3 separate regions of the Homo sapiens genome follow, and all the other regions are linked to region 1. Evidence: promoter capture Hi-C in 16 types of primary human blood cells and fetal thymus (Javierre and others, 2016). All regions are on one chromosome and are shown on one strand. Each heading gives the region's core, a stretch centred on a gene start or on the middle of the fragment in contact. The rest is flanking DNA. Distances are from core to core; before and after follow the strand shown.

Region 1 (3,540 bases), core at 274-2,773:
AGAAAAGAGTTCCATTATCCGCTACATCTGAATGACCTGCATTCTAAAAAAAAAAAAAGAAAAAATTGGTTTACAATTAGCCCATAAATTGCCTTAAAAATATATTTCAAGTTTCATTGAACTCAGATGTGACAATATTCACTGATTTCCTTTTCAACTCTTCTGCTTAGTTCTAACAATAAGTATTCCCAAAAGGCTTATGTGAGATATAGACAAAGACTATTATGTTCTTTTAGCTTTTTTATTTCCCAATATAACCATTAAATTGCAATGTCACAAATGAGCTCAACAAAGCTGATACTCCAAAGGTCCCAAAAACTATAGTAAGCTAAAGAAAGTATTTTCAAGCTAGGCTAAAAAATACAAAAACAAAAAACAGCAAAGCCACCCCACTATAAAATACTGCCCCCCAATGGTACAGGTTTCTATTACATCTACTGTGCCTTCCTGTAGGGTATTATTATACGAGCTTTAAAAGATAGTTCCAAACATGTGCGAGTGTGTGTGTGTGTGTGTGTGTGTGTGTGATTTGATTTTGTGTTGTAAGAATAAAATCAATTGTGAATGTCTGAATATTATTATGACAGCTATAATTATAACAGCTAAGTTTTAAACAAATAATGAAATATTTAAAATGTAAAAACTTTTCATTAACCATCAATAAAATTTTAAAAGAAACTCAAAAAATTCACTTAAAATTTTTAAACATTCCTTAGCCAGAATCATAATTCTTCCAAAATCCCAGTGAGCAACGAAGTTCCGGAATACTTCACAAGTAATATAGATAGAGAAGCAGAATGTTGAAATCACTTTTTGGAGAAAATCACCTATCAGTTATTTTTTTAAGCCAAAGCTTTAAGGACCTTTTTGACTTTAATTTGTAAACATTTCCTATTACCTTTTTAATGCTAATCTTGACCTTAGAGTCTGAGAAGTCAAAAACTAATAACCAATCATTTTTTTCAATCTGCATACTCCTTGACTATCACAACTGAATGAGTTCCCACCACAAAATTATTAACATCATTATGCTTCATACCCATATTATGCCCATCTTTTGGAAAATTCATAAATCCCTTTTAAGTCTCTATACAAACTGAGCAGAAGGTTAAAACAATATCTAGATTATTTAGTCAAGGAACTCATCTAGTCAATAATTAACAAAATAACACCAAATCTCAAAATGACTGCCTACAAGAGATGACAGCCTATCAGAGATGCTACAGCAAGTCGATATTCAGTCATTTTCAACCACAAACAAGTACTATTAAAAAGTCATACTTACAAAATATTTCTTAAGGTTTTCTGCTTCTTTTACATATGGGTCCTGGCAGTAACAGCCAAGAGAACCCAAAACGATGCAGAGCTGAAAAGCCAAGATATAACTTGTATATTTCATCGTTTCCGAGAGAATTAAGCCAAAGAAGTTGAAATCAGTAGTTCTTGTATCAAGCTGATCAGGTCCAAAGGACTTAACTGATCTTTCTCTTCTAATAGCTGATCTTCAGATGATCAGAACAATGTGCTGCACCTCCTCTGGCTGCTGGTATTTATACCTAATTGAAGTCTCCTGAGGATTACGTATTTTCACAAGTTTTTTAAGATGAGATGGTGACAGATAGGCAGGGATGATAGTTTGTATTAATAACTAAGGTTTTGTGGCATTTGGGTGTTGTAGTTAGAGTTTCCTTTAGACTCCTTGGGTCCTTTGACGATGAGACAGACCCATTATGCCCACCTGTGCCATTCTGGTGGGATTCTTTGAAGGCACTTTTACTTCACACCATTCAAGGACTGGAAATTTTTTTGTACCTCCCCACTTCGCCCTGGTAAAATGTTGACTCTTCATTCACAAAGCACATTGATCATTTGCTTGTGGTTGGGAACAAGTGAAAAACGAAATTCTAGGGCCTCTCAAACCTTTACAAAGGGGCAGCCTTTTAAAATTTTTCTTGCAAATGACCAGAAAGCAAGGAAAGAATGCGGTTAAAAGAACAATTTGGTGAGGAAGTCCTTCATCAGAGTTGGTTAGTAAAATATCTACCACAAGTTTCAAATTGCTCTAGATCAGCACTGCCCAGTAGAAATACAATACAAGCCACACAGGTAAATTTAAATGATCTAGTAGCCTCATTAATAAAAGTTTTTTTAAAAGGTAAATATAATTTTAAAATATATTGTATTTAAACCAATATATCCCAAATAGTACTTCAGTATGCATCAATATACTACATTGTTAATAAGGTATTTGACATTCTTTTTGTCATATTAAATCCTTGAAATACAGTGTAGAGAATATTCCCAGGGGGAGTTCCAGACGCAGTGGCTCACACCTGTAATCCCAGCACTTTGGGAGGTTGAGGCGGGTGGATCACAAGGTCAGGAGTTTGAGACCAGCCTAGCCAATATGGTGAAACCCCATCTCTACTAAAAATACAAAAAAATTAGCCAGGCATGGTGGTGTATGCCTGTAATCTCAGCTACTAGGGAGGCTGAGGCAGGAGAATGGCTTGAACCCAGAAGGTGGAGGTTGCAGTGAGCCGAGATCGCGCCACTACACTCCAGCCTAGGTGACAGAGTAAGATTCCGTCTCAAAAAAAAAAAAAGAAAAAAAGAAAAAAGGAAAGAAATACAGTGTATATTTTAAGCCTACGGTGCATCTCAATTTGGTCTAGTCGTATTTCAAACGCTTAATGGGCACATACTGCTAGGTGCTACTATATTGAACAGCATAGCTCTAAACAATTTATTGTTCCAAATAATCAGTACTAACAGAGAATCTTTTTAACTTTTTATTTCTTTGTCTTTCAGATACAAAAAAAAATAGGATTCTTTCTCCTCCTTTGTAATTTATTTATGAAGTACAACACTTTGGGATGGCACAAAAAGCCCTCCACTCTTTGGTTCAAACCCACTTTGCATTTCTACCTGTACTGTGTACATAACAGTATTGCAGTTATGGGGCAAACTTGATTCCTGACTCCTCTACTATCTAGCTATATGATTGTGAGTTAGCTTCTTAAATCTTCTATGACTCAGTCTCCTTACCTGTAAAACTGGCTTGATAATAGTATCTTCTTCCATGCTTCAGTTGAAAATTAAATCAGGTAATCCTCATAAAGTGCTAGGAATTTTTCCTGGCATATAGTAATCACTAATAAAAGTTTATTATTATTTTGGCACATTGGATGACTAGTCATTTCTTTTTTTTTTTTTTTTTTTTTGAGACGGAGTCTTGCTCTGTCACCCAGGCTGGAGTGCAGTGGCGCAATCTCGGCTCACTGCAAGCTCTGCCTCCCGGATTCACGCCATTCTCCCGCCTCAGCCTCCCGAGTAGCTGGGACTACAGGCACTCGCCACGCCCGGCTAATTTTTTTTTTTTTTTTTTTTTTTGTGCTATTTTTAGTACAGACGGGGTTTCACTGTGTTAATCAGGATGGTCTCGATCTCCTGACCTCGTGATCCGCCCGCCTTGGCCTCCCAAAGTGCTGGGATTACAGGCGTGAGCCACCGCACCCGGCCTAGTCATTTCTTTAAAAA
Region 2 (3,540 bases), core at 486-2,985, 840 kb before region 1:
AAATTAATTGCCAATCTCTGGATATATTATGCTTAGTAAGTGTTTTGAAATTAAAGACCTTAAACATTTCAGCAAGTAAATTTTGGATTCTAGCTCTGTTTTAAATTGAATCCTAATTTTCAAACCACTGCTACCCCAGATTCATACCTGTTTTTGAAATCTTGTTTATGGAATGGAAAATTGACAGTATGGTAATAGTTTATTGACTGATTGGACAAAGGATATTCTGGTTTTAACTGACTTTTCCATTTAAATAAAATTCATTTGATAATTTTGGTTGCAAAAGTGGAACACAGTGGAAGTATTTGGCTACAGGCTACCCAAATCTCATCAGATAAGGCTGTTTTCTTAAAGGAAATGCAAAATGAAATCATATGTTTTCCTTTTCCAATACAGTAAATTGCTTGTTTTCCTATGAATATCAGAAAAGATTTTGTAAACACCTTTGCTGTAGTTTCAGGCAAGATCTTTCAGCAACATGTTTTTGCTCTTTGTAACTTAGAAAGTTAGCTCTGAATCCAAAAACTACTGAAGTGAGTAATGCATATAATTTTACTTTTTTGGACCCTATAATGCCAGTGTGTCAGGTTTCAGAATGATATTTAGTAGACAGAAATACCTAATTTTGTTTTGGAATCTTAATACCCTGTCCTCTTCATAACTTTCTAGTGGTGATTTTAGCAAGTTTAATTATTTTGCTGAGGTCTTAGAAGACAGAAAGCTTATGCTATGTAAAGTGACATTGTTTCCAGATTAGGAAGTATTGGAATTAATTTGCTATTGCCAGTAAGTAATGGTTGATGGATATTAAGTGATTTTAGTCTAGAATGCTCTCAAAAAAATAGTAAAGAATTGTACTTCAGGGCCAGATGGCAGCTCACGCCTGTAATCTCAGCACTTTGGGAGGCCAAGGTGGGGGATCACTTGAAGACAGGAGTTGGAGACCAGCTCTAGGCAACATAGTGAGACCCTGTCTCTACCAAAAAGAAGAAAAAAGAAATCAACAACATGCAACCATAAGAATGGATGAGATGGCCCTAAAAGAATAAGGATTACATATAATGAGAAGACGTGTGGGCTGAAATACCTAGTGAACAATATTTAAGGGAAACTGAAGTGCAAATGGCCTCACAGGTTTGTTTTTGTGTTTAAGACAAGGTCTCACTCTGTTGCCTGGACTGGAGTACATAGCACGAACATGGTTTACTGCACCTCAGCTTCCTGGGCACAAGTGATTCTCCCACCTCAGCCTCCCGAGTAGCTGGGAGTATAGGTGTGTGCCACCACGTCCAGCTAATTTTTTTATTTCCTTGTGGAGATGGGGTCTCATGACCTTGTCCAGGATGATCTCAAACTCCTGGGCTCAAGCAATCCTGTGTTGGCCTCCTAAACTGCTGAGATTATTGCAAGTGCCTCCTTGCCCAGCCACATGTTGTTGATTTCTTTTTTCTTTTTTTTTCTTTCTTAATTTTTTTTTTTTTTTTTTTTTTTGAGATTGATGGAGTCTTGCTTTGTCTCCCAGGCTGGAGTGCAGTGGCGCAATATCGGCTCACTGCAACCTCTGCCTCCCGGGTTCTAGCTATTCTCCTGCCTCAGCCTCCCAAGTAGCTGTGATTACAGGCGTGTGCCACCATGCCCAGCTAATTTTTGTATTTTTAGTAGAGATGGAGTTTTGCCATGTTGGCCAGGCTGGTTTCAAACTCCTGATCTTAGGTGATACACCCGCCTCGGCCTCCCAAAGTGCTGGGATTACAGGCGTGAGCCACGTCCCCCAGCCAGTTTCTTAATCTATACATCTAGCCCAGTCCATGCCCCTGTTTCAGACTATTATATCCAACCACCTGCTATACATCTCATAAAGGTATCTCAAACACAGCATATCTAAAGCTGAAGTCATCATCTTGCCCTGGTTTTTCCTGTCTCTTTGCTGATGGCATCCCATTTACCCAGTCATTCAAACTGGAAATCTAAAAGCCTCACTTAGCAAGAGTTTGGAGGCAGAATATGATAAAGAACAAGGACTCTGGGAGGCCAAGGCAGGTGGATTGCTTGAGGTCAAGAGTTCGAGACCAGTCTGGCCAACATGGCGAAACCCCGTCTTTGCTAAAAAAACACAAAGAAATTAGCTAGACGTGGTGGCACATGCCTGTAGTCCCAGCTGTGTGGGAGGCTGAGGCAGGGGAATTGCTTGAACCTGGGAGGTGGAGGTTGCAGTGACCCAAGATTGCATGCACCACTGCACTCCAGCCTGGGTGACAAAGCGAGACCCTGTCTCAAAAAAAACAAGGACTCTACAGATAGATAGACATCATATATCATATTAGTTTGAATCCTGGCTGTTAGCTGTTAGACTTGGGCAAATAATTTAACCTCAACTTTCCCTATCTATAAAATGGGAATTAAAATATTTGCACCTTATAGGGTTATTGTGAGGATTAAATAGGAACATTGTATAAAGCACTTAAAACAGTACCTGGGACATACTAAGTAATATAATTGTTAACTCTTACTAGCATTCTGTCCCTTTTATTTCCTAAATATCTCTCATGCCCATCTCCTAAATATCTCTTTCCTAAATATCTCTCATGCTTTTGGCTTAAGACCTCTTTTCCTCCTTATCTATTGACTGGACTGCGGCAAATGCCTGCTAATCGTTATTTTTGTGTTCATTCATTTAGCAAGCCAATTTATTACGCGCTTAGGGTGCTGCCAGGGCTACAAAAGCTGTTGAGACTGTACTTGATATGAAGAAGCTTGCTGATTATCATGGGAAGACTGACATAAGGAAGCACCATAAAATTCTGCTGTATGAGAGGTATACACGGGATACTGGGGGTTAATAATTGAGGGTATGGTCCATTCAACATGAGTGAGACAGAAACAATTCATAAAGGAGATGAAATGTCTTGAGGAATGAGCTCTTAGAAGAATAGTTTTCAAATGAGTGTGCATCACAGTCACCTGTAAGACTTATTAAAACAGATCGCTGGGCCCTACACCCAGAGGCTGTGGTTCAGTAGGCTGTAGTAAACCAGTAATTTGTATTTCTATGACGTTCCCAGGTTCTAATGCTGTTCCCCAAGGCCACACCTTGGAAACCACCACATTAAAATACCCAGAAGGCATTAATTCCCAGTCCTTCCTCTACACAGCTGCAAAACAATGGTCCTGACCATTTCATCTTTGCACTACATCCTTCACTGTCTCTCTTTTGCCCATAGGATAAGTACAAACTAGATCTGGTTACTGCCTGCCCCACCAGCCTCAGCATCTCTCACAACTAGGACTAACTTTTTCTTCTGACAACTATAAAATATTTCCCTTGCCTTCTCAAGTTTGCTCAAGGTCAAGTTATGCCTTTTGCCTGGAATGACTTGACTTCTCTTTTGTTTTACTTAGCTGGCTGCTTTTCATCTTGTAGGTTAGGTCAAGGACTCCAGGAAGTCTTCCCTGGACAAGTAATGAAGAGGGCATAATCCAAGGGCCAACTCCCATGTTTGGAACCTGACTCCATTTTCAGGCACGTAATATTGTCAAATT
Region 3 (3,540 bases), core at 582-3,081, 810 kb before region 1:
AAACTGGTGTCCTCTGATGTCACCTATGTTTTATAAATAAATTCACAAATTCCAAAGCCAGAGATAGTTCCATATTTAGTTTGGTGAGGATTAAATGAGTTTATATATACAAAGAGTTTAGAACATTGTCTGGTACATGTAAGCCCTATATAATAATAATCATGACAATTATTATTTACTATTAGAGTCAGTACTTCCAAAAGATATTTGAAATGGCTATTTTAAAAAGGCAAAACAAAACAAAGAAAAAAATACAGGAAAAATTTGCATTTTGAGTTCCTAGAATAAATCAGTTGCTGCAGTTAAATGTTTTAGTTCTGAGCATCTAGGCAGCTATGTCAAAAATGAAAACACTGTTATGTAATATAGTTCTTGTTGATTTGTAATTGAAATCAAATTAGGTCATCTAAAGAAATGAACTTTTTATGAAATTCTAATCATAATTAAATGTGCAGATCCTTGTACAAAGGGGCTTTGAAACAATATTTTGGACTTTCTTAAAAGTCTTAAAGAAGGCCTTTCAGGCATGACGTTAAATCTTAATGCAAAGAAGTATTGTATGCATGTGCTAAACCCACATATTCTAGGTGTTTATTTTTTATAAGTGTCCATTTTCCCTCCTGTTGCCAGAGTGACTTTTAAAAATGCAAACACGATCATGTCACTCCCCTGCTTAAAATTCTTCCCTGACTCTTCATTGCCCACAGTGGTGGTCTCAAGCTTATTTTTAGTCATGGAACCATTTCTTCAAATTAGAACTTACACAGAAATTCAATATGTAAATAAAATATAGGCTGAGTTGCTCTGGATGAAGTACAGGTGAGGACCTGGCATCTGCATTTCCAGCTTCATCTACCTCTCTGCTCGTGCACCTTGTTCCATCCTCCAACCATCAGGATATAATCAGAACCCTTCAGTGTGGTCTAAACAACTTCCATTCAACCCATAAGTTGCCATGCTGGCTGCACTTAGTTTGAGCTTAGATGAGAATCTAACTTACTAACCAAACTGGTACAATTTTGAAAATGAGTTGTTAAAAAATTAACATTATATGAGTTTTGAAATATTTACTTATTGTTCAACAAACTGGTTTTATGTTATTGTTAAGCATATAAAACAATTCCATTAAAACTGTTTTAAAAGGTCTCTCTAAAAATATTAAAGCAAAAATAAAAAACAAAGATCAAAAATAAAAACAAAAAATAAAAAATTATTAAAGCAGATATATTGATTGAATATTTCAAAAAACACAAGTGTAATAATTACTCTTCAAACATAGTACTGTATTTTACTTAGTTTCTTAGTTTGGTCTGCCTTTAAGCCTATGACATTGTTTCTCTTCCTCCTCCCCTTCTTTTCTTTCTTTATTCTTTGAGTAAATAATGCTTTTTTCCCTAATTTGGTTCCAAAATTTTAATAAAATTGCCTCTAATCTTCAAAATATAATTTTATGATATATAAATGGAAAATGTTTGATATATTTACTTCTAGATGAAAATTCTATTTTTAATGAGAATATATTCTCTCTGTCAGTGGTGAGGTAATCAGTAAGCTCACAACAAATGCGGCTAAATAGAAGATATTCCCAATTCTCTTTTAAAATATATTAAAATGGGTAAACATTTTAGCCTAGATATTTTTCTTTCAATCTGGAATGCCTTTCTTTGACATGCACTTCTATAAGACAAATCTTGTAGATCAATATTTCTCAGGGCCAGGCTGCCAACTAGTCCTAGTGCTAGGCTGTGAGCTGGCATGCACTATGTGCCTACCCAGTGGCTTCTGGAGCAGGTTTGAGGCACCCACCAGCGAGCTTCAGTGTTGTCCTCCTACGAACTCATTCCTGTGAGAGCAGAACCTCTTCGAGAGCAGAAGGTGAATTCTAAAAAAGACCAAGCAGGAAAGGGCTGCTTGAAAAATAAGATATGAAAACTGGAAAAGGCTAGCCAAGAGCTCATTCTTGTTGCAGATTTTATTAGCCTTGTGAGGTTCTTGGATAAAGCAAGCCAGTGGCCTCAGGTGGAGCTCTCCTTGGAGGAGAGTGAGTGGAGAGCTCTGCTTCTGATGAGTGGTCTCTGTACAAGCAGCGAGAGCACACTATGGACAGGGACACCATCAAGGCTGTGCTGGGGACCCAGCAGGAAGCTCTGCAGGAGCTACCACTCAAGTCCCCTGAGTTCCCCACTGAGACCATCAAGTGGGACTGCAGCATGTTCCCCTTTGAATGGGAAGGTCCAGATTATACACTATGGGTCTCTAACTACCAGCCCCCCAAAGGCAGGTACAATGACATCACCAAGATGTACACACAGGTAGAGCTCAAGAGAGAGTTGCAGCAGCCAACCTTGGAACATGAGGCCCCGAGAGTCAGAATGACCAGGGTTCCAGTCGGCTTTCCACAGAATCAGGCATACTGATAATAAAGACATGTTTAATCAAAAAAGAAAAAAAAATAAAAGGAAGAAAAACGTTGTCTTTATGACTGTTTGGAGCATTTCACCAAATTTAGGTTTTGTGAAAATGTAGACTTCTCAACTCTATTCCATTCTATTCTGGAACAGAATGCCAATTTATCTGAATAAACGTAGGAGCTCCATCAAAAGACTCTTCAAGTTGAAATATTCCAAAGTGCAATTATAGAATTTCAAAATTAAATCCTGTATCCTGTTTAAATTTGTATTGTTAACATTTGTTCACATCCTTTTTTTTTGTATAGACAAATTTCATTTGCTCTTCTGTAAGTTTTGTTTTCAATAACTTTAATTCTCTAAAAAGTTTTGCAAGCTGAAGGTTTTTGTTCTTCCACTTGTTGAATGCCTTGATTTAAAATTTCAATACTTGTTAATAAAATGTGACCAAAATTTAGAAAACTTGTTTACAAGAGTTGTACGCCACTTGGGTTGACTTGAAAGTAATTTATTTGAAGAATCAAACATTTCAATTAAAGCTTCATGATATGGTTTGGATTTCTTTTCCTGCCCAAATCTCATGTTGAATTGGAGGAGGGGACTGGTGGGAGGTCACTGGATCATGGGGGCAGGTTTCCTTCTTGCTGTTCTCCTGGTAGTGAGTGAGTTCTCATGAGATCTGATCGTTTAAAAGCATGTGGCACCTCCCTCTTCTTTTTCTTTCCTGATTCATCATGGTAAGATGTGCTTGCTTTCCCTTAGTCATCTGCCGTGATTGTAAGTTTCCTGAGGCCTTCTAGCCTCATGCTTCCTGTATAGCCTGTGGAACTGTGAGTCAATTAAACCTCTTTTCTTCATAAATTACCCAGTATCAGGTATAGCAGTGTGAGAACAGACTAATAGACTTCAATTAAAGATTTATTCTTGATAGGTCCAAAACTTTGGCTGATGGGGAAATGGGGCTGTCTAGAACGCCAGATACATGTTACAAGGGGAGGGAGGAAAGTAAGTGAGAGCATGTCTTATTCTTCTTCTGAACTGGTGAGGCAGTCATCTTAGCTGTCCATAGTGCTATGGACCACTGGAAAACAGCCCCTTTCTTAATGTCTTGGCCATCAGGAATGGTCATCCA

The links. Contacts are between HindIII fragments. The CHiCAGO score rates a contact against its expected background, and 5 or more counts as called.
Region 2: a contact is called between a fragment that was not itself captured here and the fragment with the promoter of IFNG in region 1, in 1 of 17 cell types (total B cells). The highest score is 5.4, in total B cells.
Region 3: a fragment that was not itself captured here is called in contact with the fragment with the promoter of IFNG in region 1 in 3 of 17 cell types (M2 macrophages, total CD4 T cells and naive B cells); the score reaches 8.0 in M2 macrophages.

What each region holds. Positions count from the first base shown.
Region 1 is chr12:68,158,217-68,161,756 of GRCh38, forward strand. It overlaps IFNG (interferon gamma), which reads right to left and starts at 1,524. Exons shown (of 4, transcript NM_000619.3): 1 at 1,286-1,524; 2 at 1-43. The coding sequence starts at 1,399. The HindIII fragment of the contact is 12,450 bases long and covers 852-3,540 here.
Region 2 is chr12:67,316,006-67,319,545 of GRCh38, forward strand. CAND1 (cullin associated and neddylation dissociated 1) reads left to right here. Exons shown (of 15, transcript NM_018448.5): 15 at 1-3,540. Among named protein-coding and RNA genes, the nearest start is that of CAND1, 48 kb to the left of the region's middle. The HindIII fragment of the contact is 2,032 bases long and covers 720-2,751 here.
Region 3 is chr12:67,349,715-67,353,254 of GRCh38, forward strand. It overlaps LOC124902957 (a long non-coding RNA gene), which reads left to right. Exons shown (of 2, transcript XR_007063354.1): 2 at 1-2,966. It also overlaps the pseudogene MRPL40P1. Among named protein-coding and RNA genes, the nearest start is that of CAND1, 82 kb to the left of the region's middle. The HindIII fragment of the contact is 2,227 bases long and covers 719-2,945 here.